Regions from separate parts of the Homo sapiens genome. Here region 2 is linked to region 1. The links are contacts of gene promoters, found by promoter capture Hi-C in blood cells and fetal thymus (Javierre and others, 2016). All regions are on one chromosome and are shown on one strand. Each heading gives the region's core, a stretch centred on a gene start or on the middle of the fragment in contact. The rest is flanking DNA. Distances are from core to core; before and after follow the strand shown.

Region 1 (5,991 bases), core at 415-2,914:
TGGAGGTAGGCTAAAGAGGGTATGGCCAGTAGGGGTCCTGAAAGGGAAGCTCCTAATTTGCAAAAAGGAAGAGAAAAGGCAGTAGAATCATAGGAAATTCCTTGTACCCTAATTGCCACTGCTTTTTGGTTGTTTTTTTTTTTACAACAACCTAATTTATTAAACAATCTTTAAAACATCAAGAAGTAGATCTGTATAACTCCTTTAAGAAATGAGAACAGGAGAGAGTTTAGAAAGTCATTTGCTTCCACTTGCTTCCCGTTCAGTCTCTGCTACAGCAAAACACAAGTTTGAAAGATTCAAGAAGTAGGAAAAGATAGAATGTAACAGAAGAATGCCAGAAGTCATTAGTGGTCTATTAAGTACCAGAATATAACTGGAATTCTCTAAACTGTGGAGAAGATACATATTTTGTTAAATATCAAAGAATCTGTCTGTAAACCACCCCTCAAGCAAAAATATATGTTTAATCAAGCTTATACAGTGCAATAACCACACATATCTGGAATTTCAAATGCTTTCTTTAAAAATATTCACCCACCATACATTCTCATTCCATCCAAAATTGTTCTTTAAATTCCTGAAGACACAGACACACACACACTTTAACTTCATGTAAATCTCGCCCTTCTTGTTCGCATACCCTGAAGAAAAGAATAAACACCTCAAGATGCTCTCTCCTCTTGTTCATACCCTAAAAGAACACTCGGAAAGAAGCAAATGGAGTTCAGAATGAAGAAAGAAGGCAACAGAATAAAGGAGAACAAAACCAGAGACCCTATCGGGGAGTCACGTTATTCTTGGAAAATATCATCTCCGTTCCTTCTCCAAGCCCAAAGGCCAGACAGCACTGGCGCAATACCATCCCTGTCCAAAGCGCTAACGAGTTGCCAACTAATCCCTCAAGGTGTCCCCCAACCTCCTCACCTCATCAGCGCTCAGCTCCTCCATCGCTTTCCTCTTAATGGTGAAAGGCGTTAAGGAGAGATCCTTCTGTTCTCGAGACCACGGCGGGAGGAAGGAGAGTGGAAGGTGTCTATCAGGCTGTCTGGTCCCCCGAATGGGGGAGGTTTCAGAATTGCATAGTCAGAGGTTAAAAAATAAGAACACGAGAGGCACTAAACTGCCTTGGCTTCGGTCACTCCAGTCGCCCCACAGACTACTACAGCCGCTTGTTCCCTGAGCAGCCTCCTTTGGCCGCCACTGCTGCTGCTACAGGGTTGTCTTAAGGCGCCACTTATTACCCTCTGCTTCCCAGGTTACCCAGCTAGGCAGCGCGGTCTCCAGTTCGTCTCGTGCCCCGAGCCTGCTGTTTCTTCGTGATAGTGGCGCGGTAGCTGCGTTCCTACAGCAGATCCTGCTCTCCTTCCTACCCTTTGCTCCTGGCGGGAACTGGTCGACTGCAGAGTGGATACCCCGAGGTAAGGCGACCCCACAGCCGTCCTGGCAGAGCCCAGCACTGTAAGGGAAGCCCCTCCCCTCCCAAAGCAGGCCGGCCACGCCCCGCCTCCACGCCGGAGCCCGGGTAGGGGGGAGGGGGAGGATGGGATGCGCGTAGCTCTCGCTGGAAGAGTAAATCCTCCTACCCCTCCACCCCTACTCTTTCCCCCTCGCCCCACCAAGTATTATTCATCAAAACAACAGGGCGGCCATCTTTGAAAGGGATCACGTGACCCCCGTCAGGGAGGCGGGGCTTCTGGCGCCGGGACGTGGCAGCCAATAGGCCGCGGGCGCCGCGCCGCCGAGTTCCTCTCGCCTGCGTCCTCTCCCCGCCTCCGTCCCACCCCGTCCCGCGCAGCCGCGCCGGACGTGGGGAGGGGCAAAGGGAGGCTGGCGGCTGGGCGGGGCGTTGCCACGGCGACCGCGCTGGGGCTGCGGGCGCGGCGGGCCTGAGCCAGGTAGGCTGGCAAGGGGAGGGACGACTCCCAGACTCGCGTCGGGGAAGATCCACCAGAAGGTGGCGCTGGCCCGCGGCCCGGGGGCCCGCCGCGCCTCCGTTGTTCCCAATCGCCTGCTTTTCTGTGACTTGGGGGCCTAGAAACACCTCATCGCTCCCACTGGACTGTGCGCGCCCGCCGCCTAAGCGAGGGAAAAGAAAACGGAAAACGTCTCCTTGACCCCGGGAGCGTGATCTACCGTATTGAGCGCTCATTTTCTGAAACATCTGCCACACACTCTTCCACCTCCTCCAGGAAAGCCCAGTTGGAAGAAAACTCGAACACAAGAACTCCCATTCATTTTATTTTACCTTGGCCTTTTAGAGATACTTCCTGGGTTTTTTTTTTTTTAAGTGTGTTCAAAAAGTATTGGTAAAATTTGAAAGTATAAATGGATGAGAGACCCAAATCACTGAATTGTACACAGCAAATGCAAGGAAGACGTTTGGAGTCAGTGGGGGAAAACCATCCTCCGGTGCACAAGAATACAAATATTTGGCCGGGCGCGGTGGCTCACGCCTGTAATCCCAGCACTTTGGGAGGCCGAGGCGGGCGGATCACGAGGTCAGGAGATCGAGACCATCCTGGCTAACACGGTGAAACCCCGTCTCTACTAAAAAATACAAAAAATCAGCCAGATGTGGCGGCGGGCGCCTGTAGTCCCGGCTACTCGGGAGGCTGAGGCAGGAGAATGGCGTGAACCCGGGAGGCGGAGCTTGCAGTGAGCCGAGATCGCGCCACTGCACTCCAGCCTGGGCGACAGAGCGCGACTCCATCTCAAAAAATATATATATATGTATGTATATATATATTTATAAAATATAAATCTAAGTTGAGCGATCAAAGTAACAGTACCATGAAATTCCAGATTTTGCCGCTGACGAAGACTATAAGTGGATTGGATGGCTCACTAAGCCATAAAGACTGCATTCCAGAATTAAGAGTTACAATGTATTTGCTACATGCTTAAAATAGGAACCTGACTACTAGATATGTAAGGAATTTGTGAGTAAAAATATGTAAGGAATTTGTGAGTAAAAATAAATCACTGCTGGCTTTGCATATTATCTGCTCTCCAGGAAAGGAATTCTGTGTAAGCCAGAACTTGAACCCCTGGTGACATTGATGTTAAAAGTTTACTTTTTTTAACCTCATTATTGCCATCTAATTTACATACCATACAATTCACCCAATTAAGGTGTACAGTGGTTTTATTATGTTCACAGTTCAGTCATCCTCACTGTCCAATTTCAGAACATTTTCATCATCCCAAAAAGAAACCCTCAAAGCCATTAACAGTCACTCCCGGGCTGGGCGCAGTGGCTCACGCCTGTAATCCCAGCCCTTTGGGAGGCCAAGGCGGGTGGATCAAGAGGTCCGGAGTTTAAGACCAGCCTGGCCAAGATGGTGAAATACAAAATACAAAAATTAGAAGGGCGTGGTGGCGGGCACCTGTAATCCCAGCTACTTGGGAGTCTGAGGCAAAGAATTGCTTGAACCCGGGAGGCAGAAGTTGCAAGGAGCCGAGATCGTGCCACTGCACTCCAGCCTGGGCAACAGAGCGAGACTCCGTCACAAAAAAAAAAGACTCCTGCAGGATAACTACCTTCTGTCTTGGTGAATTTGCCTATTCTGGACATTTCACATCAGTGGAGCAATACACCGTGTGGCCTTTGGGGTTTGGCTTCCTTCACTTAGCATATGTTTTCAAGGTTCACGCATATTGTAGCATATATCTGTACTTCATTTCTTTAATGCCAAATGTATCACTGTATTGCTGTAGCGCATTTTGTTTATCAATTCATAGTGATATTTGGGTTGTTTCCACCTTTTGACAATTATGAGTAATGCTGCTATAAACATTCATGTACAAGTGTTTGTTTGGACATATGTTTTTATTTTTATTCCTTTTAGGCATATACCTAGGAGAGGAATTGCAGGATTACATGTTTGACTTTTTGAGAAACTGTCAAACTGTTTTCCAAAGCAGCTGCACTGCCACCAGCAATGTGTGAGGGTTCTAACTTCTCTACATCTCTACCAACAATGGTTTTTGTCTGTCTTTTTTATTGTAGCCACACCAGTAGATGTGAAATGGTATCTCTTTGTGGTTTTGTTTTTCATTTTCCTAGGAGCTAATGATGTTGAACATCTGCTTAGGTTTATCTTCTTTGGACAAATACCTATTCATTCATATTCTCTGTTCTTTTTTTTTTTTTTTTTTTTTTTTGAGATGGAGTCTTGCTCTGTCACCAGGCTGGAGTGCAGTGGCGCGATCTCAGCTCACTGCAACCTCCACCTCCCAGGTTCAAGTGATTCTCCTGCCTCAGCCTCCCAAGTAGCTGGGCCTACAGGCGCCCACCAGCATGCCTGGCTAATTTTTGTATTCTTAGTAGAGATGAGATTTCACCACGTTGGCCAGGATGCTCTCGTGGATCTCTTGACCTCGTAATCCGCCCACCTCCGCCTCCCAAAATGCTGGGGTTACAGGCATGAGCCACTGTGCCCGGCTTTTTCTCTTTCTTTTCTTTTTTCTTTTTTTTAAGACAGAATCTTGCTCTGTCACCCAGGCTGGAGTGCACTGACACAATCTCGGCTCACCGCAACCTCTGCCTCCTGGGTTCAAGCGCTTCTCCTGCCTCAGCCTCCCGAGTAGCTGGGATTACAAGCATGGGCCACCACGCCCGGCTAATTTTTGTATTTTTAGTAGAGACAGGGTTTTGCCATGTTAGCCAGGCTGATCTCAAACTCCTGACCTCAAGTGATCCACCCACATCGGCCTCCCAAAGTGCTGGAATTACAGGCGTGAGCCACTGCACCTGGCCCTCTGTTTTTTTGTGTGTGTTTTTGTTTTTTTGTTTTGTTTTTCTTTTTCCCTCTGTTCATTTTTAATTGGGTTGTCTTCTTTTTTTTTTCTTTTTTTTTATTTATTTTTTTTATTGATCATTCTTGGGTGTTTCTTGCAGAGGGGGATTTGGCAGGGTCATAGGACAATAGTGGAGGGAAGGTCAGCAGATAAACAAGTGAACAAAGGTCTCTGGTTTTCCTAGGCAGAGGACCCTGCAGCCCTCCGCAGTGTTTGTGTCCCTGGGTACTTGAGATTAGGGAGTGGTGATGACTGTTAATGAGCATGCTGCCTTCAAGCATCTGTTTAACAAAGCACATCTTGCACCGCTCTTAATCCATTTAACCCTGAGTGGACACAGCACATGTTTCAGAGAGCACAGGGTTGGGGGCAAGGTCACAGATCAACAGGATCCCAAGGCAGAAGAATTTTTCTTAGTACAGAACAAAATGAAAAGTCTCCCATGTCTACTTCCTTCTACACAGGCACGGCAACCATCCGATTTCTCAATCCTTTCCCCACCTTTCCCCACTTTCTATTCCACAAAACCGCCAGTGTCATCATGGTCCGTTCTCAATGAGCTGCTGGGTTCACCTCCCAGACGGGGTGGTGGCCAGGCAGAGGGGCGCCTCACTTCCCAGTAGGGGCGGCCGGGCAGAGGCACCCCTCACCTCCCTCCCGGGTGGGGTGGCTGCCGGGCGGAGACGCTCCTCACTTCCCAGACGGGGTGGCTGCCGGGTGGAGGGGTTCCTCACTTCTCAGACGGGGCGGTTGCCAGGCAGAGGGTCTCCTCACTTCTCAGACGGGGCGGCCGGGCAGAGACGCTCCTCACCTCCCAGACAGGGTTGCGGCCGGGCAGAGGCGCTCCTCACATTCCAGACGGGGCGGCGGGGCAGAGGCGCTCCCCACATCTCAGACGATGGGTGGCCGGGCAGAGACGCTCCTCACTTCCTAGATGGGATGGCGGCCGGGCAGAGACGCTCCTCACTTTCCAGACTGGGCAGCCAGGCAGAGGGGCTCCTCACATCCCAGACGATGGTCGGCCAGGCAGAGACGCTCCTCACTTCCCAGACGGGGTGGTGGCCGGGCAGAGGCTGCAATCTCGGCACTTTGGGAGGCCAAGGCAGGCGGCTGGGAGGTGGAGGTTGTAGCGAGCCGAGATCACGCCACTGCACTCCAGCCTGGGCACCATTGAGCACTGAGTGAACG
Region 2 (5,638 bases), core at 447-2,946, 140 kb after region 1:
AACAAGCAAGCAGTGTGGCTCACGTGATGCGTGGAGCCAGGAACCCTGGCCTCTGTAGCACAGATGGGTGTATTTGCGAAGTAAACAGATACACCTATATCTTTATGCAAATTAACACATACCTTTATGCTGACAGCCTGTTGGAAAGAGGCAGTGGCCTTAAAACTTCTTTTCTTTTTTTTTTTTTGAGACAGTCTCGCTCTGTTGCCCAGGCTGGGGTGCAGTGGTGTGATCATAGCTCACTGCAACCTCAGACTCCTGGGCTCTTGGGATCCTCCCACCTCAGCCTCCCAAGTAACTGGGCCTACAGGTGCAAGCCACTGCACACCCAGCTAATCTTTTTTTTTTTTTTTTTTTAGACGGAGTCTCGCTCTGTCCCCCAGGCTGGAATGCAGTGGCGCGATCTCGGCTCACTCCAAGCTCTGCCTCCCGGGTTCACGCCATTCTCCTGCCTCAGCCTCCCGAGTAGCTGGGACCACAGGCACCCACCACCACGCCTGGCTAATTTTTTGTATTTTTAGTAGAGACGGGGTTTCACCGTGTTAGCCAGGATGGTCTTGATCTCCTGACCTCATGATCCGCCCGCCTCAGCTTCCCAAAGTGCTGGGATTAGAGGCGTGAGCCACCGCGCCCAGGCTGCACCCAGCTAATCTTTTAAAGATTTTTTGTAGAAGCCAGGCTCGGTGGCTCATGTCTATAATGCCAGCACTTTGGGAGGCTGAGGTAGGCAGATCACATGAGGTCAGGATTTTGAGACCAGCCTGGCCAACATGGCAAAACCCTGTCCCTACTAAAAATACAAAATAAAATTAGCTGGACATGGTGGCACGCACCTGTAGTCCCAACTACTCGGGAGGCCGAGGCAGGAGAATCACCTGAGACTGGAAGGCAGAGGTTGCAGTGAAACGAGATTGCGCCACTGCACTCCAGCCTGGGCGACAGAGGGAAAGAGCGAGACCCCATCTCCAAAAAAAAAAAAAAAAAAAAAAAAAAAAATTTAAAGAGATGGGGTCTTACTTTATTGCCCAGGCTGGTTTTGAAGTCCAGGCCTCAAGCAATTCTCCTACCTCAGTCTCCCAAAGTGCTGGGATTACAGGCATTTGCCACTGTGCCCAACAAAACTTATTTTCCGAAGAGTTTGATTGGGAAGCGTTTCCCCAGGAGGCTGCACCTGGGGTCTCTCAGCCAGGTCCTGAGGATGACCATCCCCAGAGCCGGGTGGTGAGGAGGGGGCTGCTTCCGGGGGCACAGTCCTGCAGCCGATCCAATTGATTTAATGACCTAATCCTCACCACAGGAAGCTGGAGGCTTTCCCAGCCCTGGGATTCTGAGGGGATGCAGCAAACTCAGTTCAGGAAGCTTGTTTGTTTGAACCAATTATAGAGGCTTTAATGAGGGAAAGCTATGGAGGGAATGGGGCAAGGGGAGAAGAGCTGGAGAGAGAGGTGCCTGTTGAGAAGATCTGGGTGACCCTCAGGCAATGGGAGGGCCGGGCCATGCCCAGGCCTGCCTCTGAGGATGAGGCTTGTCCTTGTGGGAATGGGGTGGCGTGAACATGTCAGTGTGGTTCAGAGTGAAGGGACCTTATGTACCTTGTGGAGAAACGTGAGTGCCCCCCACCCCCGCCAAAAATAGCACTGTGTCAGTTTTCCCCCTTTCTTCTTGAAGTACTTTTAAATTTCCTAATGTAATTAAAATTTTAAGCTGTGACCCTGCAAAGAGCTGGCATAGCTTTTGACAGCGGGATTGATGGAGCTTCCATAGGTCAAAATTTCCAGTCTGATCGCACTCTCTGGAGGTGACCCGCACTCTCTGGAGGTGACCCATGCTCTCCAGAACCTCTGGGCCAGGCTCCATCCCTGGAATTACTAGGTCTGGAAGTGGTCCCTTCCTGACAGAAATGCAAATTAATTTGCCTTTTGGGGACTTAGTCAGCTTGCTGGGGATCTCTCTGGTGTCCCAGGAGAGAAAAAGCGTTCCTCTACCTCCAGTTGACACAGAGGATCTTTTGATGCCTTTGCTCAGGAAGCTTCCTGCCAGGTGCACAGCCCATGGGGAAGGTCGGTCAGGCCTGGGAGGCCTCATACCCAGGAGTGAGGGGGCGCTTGTACCCATGCAAGAGCTAGGATTCCAGCCCTTCCATTGGCTTATAAATAGAAGAAGGCTCTGGATTCTGCATTAGTAACCCCTCTGGAACCTGCCAGAGGCTGAAGGTAATGAGTCAGACTGAATTAAAGGAAGATCCGTGGCTGGATTTTGTAGGCGTGCTGGTTCCTGACTTCAGGTCTCAGGCTCTGACTTGGCCAGGTTCCAGGGCTCCAGCTGTTCTCTGGGAAGAAAAAAGAACCTCTTTTAAAATTAAGCCGAAAGATGCCTTTCTTTTCTTCTGTCCTTGTCCCCCCACTGTGCAGAGAGAAAACCTCCACCAGCACGTCCCCTTGGTTAGAACAGTAGAGCCTGAAGACATAGCCCAGGATCTTCAGTGTTCTGGGGCAGCCAAGGAAACTTCCTCAGGCTCCACATGCCTTCCTGTTTGCATTGTTTTCAGCTGAATTTCAAGAGGCTGTCAGAGCAGGCCTGCCAGGTACTCTTGCCTCTGTAAAAAGGTGGGTTTCACTCAATTCAGGACTGGAGAGACAACGAGATCTGGGCCAGAATCACAAGGATAAATATTTTAAACCAGAAGATGTAAACAGATGCCTCATGCCAATCCAGTTATAGGAACATGCAGGTTCCTCCAGCTCCTTGGTGTGTTAGGATTATCTGAAGTGAGGCCATGCAAAGGCTGGGGGGCACTTCCTTCATGGTTCCCATTCACTTCACCACTCGAGGAGCCCCAGTTGTGGCTAGCAGTGGTGTCTCACCTGTCCAGATTCTTCAGCACAGAGCCTTACAAGTTTTTCTAGGGTCCACAAAAATATTGGCCATGTGGGAAAAAAATATATCACTCCCTCTACTCTTGTGAGTTACGTGAGGATTACATTTAATAAGAGATGTGGGTTTGTTTTAGTATGTCTCTGAGAATAAGGTTCCCTGGGGCCTATAAAGGCCTTAAAACCACCCCCGGTCTGTCCTCAAAGAGCTTCCAGTCTGGTGGTGAACATTTCTCAGATATCCAGGTACAGTGTTGGGGCGGTGATGCGAGAAGAGGAAATGCAGGCGGATGTGCAGACACAGGCCTCGAGGCAGCCCAGAGAAGGTGTTGTAGAGCAGAGAACATCTGTGAGGCTTGGTCTCAGGAATCAGGGAGGGAAGGAAGTTCTAGGTGGAAAGCATAGCAGATGCAGAGGCCCAGAGATGTGGAGGGAGCCTGGTGCAATCGGCAGCTCCGAGATGGCCCCCTAGTAGGGCTTCTCACTCAGCTCTCCAGACGTGGGGCTGGATAATTATTGGTGGTGGGCACTGATCCTGGCCTCTACCCAGCAGGACCCTACTAGTCGTGACAATCAAAAATGTCTCTAGATATTGCCACATTTCTGCCGTGGGGCAGAATCGCCCCCATTGAGAGCCACGGCTGTAGAGGGAATATGAGGGTAAGCTTGGATCTGACCGCCTGCCTCAGTGCGTGGGAGGGACAGAAGGAGCCCTTTCTTTTTGCTTCCTGTCCAGCGTGCAGGTCCTGGGGAAGCTGTCTCCAGGCAGGTTTGTGCCTGTGCTGGAGCACTTTGGTGTGTGTGGCATGCCTGCTGGTGGCCTGCAGAGCTTGCTCTGAACAGGAGCCCCTTCATAGAAAGGAGGATGCCCCAGTGGTTCCAGGCGCCTCCCTCCCAGCCTGGTTGCCGTGTCAGTACCTTTCCTGCAGTAGGTAGGCGGCTCAGCTGGGTGCAGCATTGCATTCTGGCCATTGCGGGGCTGTATTGAATGAGGTCAGGTGGATTTGATTTAAATGCTCCCAGAACCTTCCGAAAGGGCCTTCATCAGAGAGCTCTGGACCTGGAACAGCGTGCACGGCACTGCTGTGAAGGGGACAGGCGGGCTACTCTGATCTCGGAGTGTGCATAGGGCAAACTGTTGAGAATTCCAGAATCACTCCCACGGCAGCAGACCTGTAGCCAGAGAGGAAAGGGTCCTCCTGCATTTGGGCTTCATGGCTGCCCCCACTGGAGGAGGGCTAGCTGTGGCTAACATGGGGTGGTCTGGGATGCGATGCAGATGGCACTGTGTGTAGACAGATGCAGGGCCTCTCCCCATCGCCTTACATTACCATTTCTTAATTTTTTTTTTTTTTGAGGCAGTCTTGCTCTGTCACCCAGGCTGGAGTGCAGTGGCGCGATCTCGGCTCACTGCAGTCTCTGCCTCCTGGGCTCAAGCGATTCTCCTGCCTCAGCCTCACACCCAGCTAATTTTTGGTATTTTTTAGTAGAGACGGGGTTTCACCATGTTTGCCAGGCTGGTCTTGAACTCCTGACCTCAGGTGATCCGCGCACCTCAGCCTCCCAAAGTGCTGGGATTACAGGCATGAGCCACCGCGCCCGGCCACCATGCCCAGCTTTTAAATTTTTTTTTTTATTTTTTGTAGAGATGGGGTTTCACCTTGTTGCCCAGGCTCAAACTCCTGGCCTCAAGTGATACTCCCACCTCAGCCTCCCAAAGCGTTGGGATTACAGGCATGAGCCACTGTGCCCAGACCATATTTTCTTTTTAAAAATTAATTAGCGGGGTGTGGTGGCTCATGCCTGTAATTCCAGCACTTTGGGAGGCTGAGGCAGGTGGATCACTTGAGGTTAGGATTTCAAGACCAGCCTAGCCAACATGGTGAAACCCCGTCTTTACTAAGAATACAAAAATTAGCTGGGTGTGGTGGTGGGTGCCTGTAATCCCAGCTATTAGGAGGCTGAGGCAGGATAATCACTTGAACCCGGGAGGCGGAGGTTGCAGTGAGCTGAGATCGCACCACTGCACTCCAGCCTGGGTGACGGTGTGAGACTCCATCTCAAAAATAATTAATTAATTTCTATTGGTATATAATAATTGTAAGCCTTATTTTCGAATTAATCTCTGATTGGCAGTGGGTTGGACTCTAGCCGTTTTTCTTTTTCCTGTAAGGTGGATTTTTCTTTTTCTTTTTTTTTTCTTGAGACGGAATCTTGCTCTTTTGCCAGGTTGGAGTGCAGTGGCGAGATCTCAGCTCACTGCAACCTCTGCCTCCTGGGTTCAAGCAATTCTCTTGCCTCAGCCTCCCGAGTAGCTGGGATTACAGGCGTGTGCCACCATGCCCAGCTAATTTTTGTAATTTTAGTAGAGACAGGGTTTTACTATGTTGGCGATCTCTTGACCTCCTGATCTGCCCGCCTCCACCTTCCAAAGTGCTGGGGTTACAGGCGTGAGCCACTGTGCCCGGCCCACATTTTTCTTTTAATTTCAGTTAAAATGGATAATGCGTCTGTCAACTCCTGAGCCAGAAGGGGCTGTTAGGAGAGAGGGAAAGCATGGCCTTGGATCCAGGCTTACCACTTATTACTCCATGGCCTCAGGCAGGTTACTTACCTTCTCTGAGCCTCAGTTTTGTCATCCATAAAATGGGAATAATTCCTACCTTGCAGGCTTGTGAGGGCTGACTGACTCTGCCACTCTGTGCCTGGACTTAGAAAATGCTGTGGTGACAACAGTAATTATTCTTCGGTAGCATCACCTGGCT

Evidence for each region. Contacts are between HindIII fragments. The CHiCAGO score rates a contact against its expected background, and 5 or more counts as called.
Region 2: a contact is called between a fragment that was not itself captured here and the fragment with the promoter of UBE4B in region 1, in 5 of 17 cell types (M2 macrophages, naive B cells, endothelial precursors and 2 more). The highest score is 6.2, in M2 macrophages.

What each region holds. Positions count from the first base shown.
Region 1 is chr1:10,028,631-10,034,621 of GRCh38, reverse strand. It overlaps UBE4B (ubiquitination factor E4B), which reads right to left and starts at 1,664. Exons shown (of 28, transcript NM_001105562.3): 1 at 928-1,664. The coding sequence starts at 951. RefSeq lists enhancers at 797-846, 1,238-1,892 and silencers at 1,407-1,626, 1,657-2,046. The HindIII fragment of the contact is 8,691 bases long and covers 478-5,991 here.
Region 2 is chr1:9,887,140-9,892,777 of GRCh38, reverse strand. The region is part of intron 1 of CTNNBIP1 (catenin beta interacting protein 1); the gene reads left to right. Among named protein-coding and RNA genes, the nearest start is that of CTNNBIP1, 20 kb to the left of the region's middle. RefSeq lists an enhancer at 5,397-5,638. The HindIII fragment of the contact is 670 bases long and covers 1,362-2,031 here.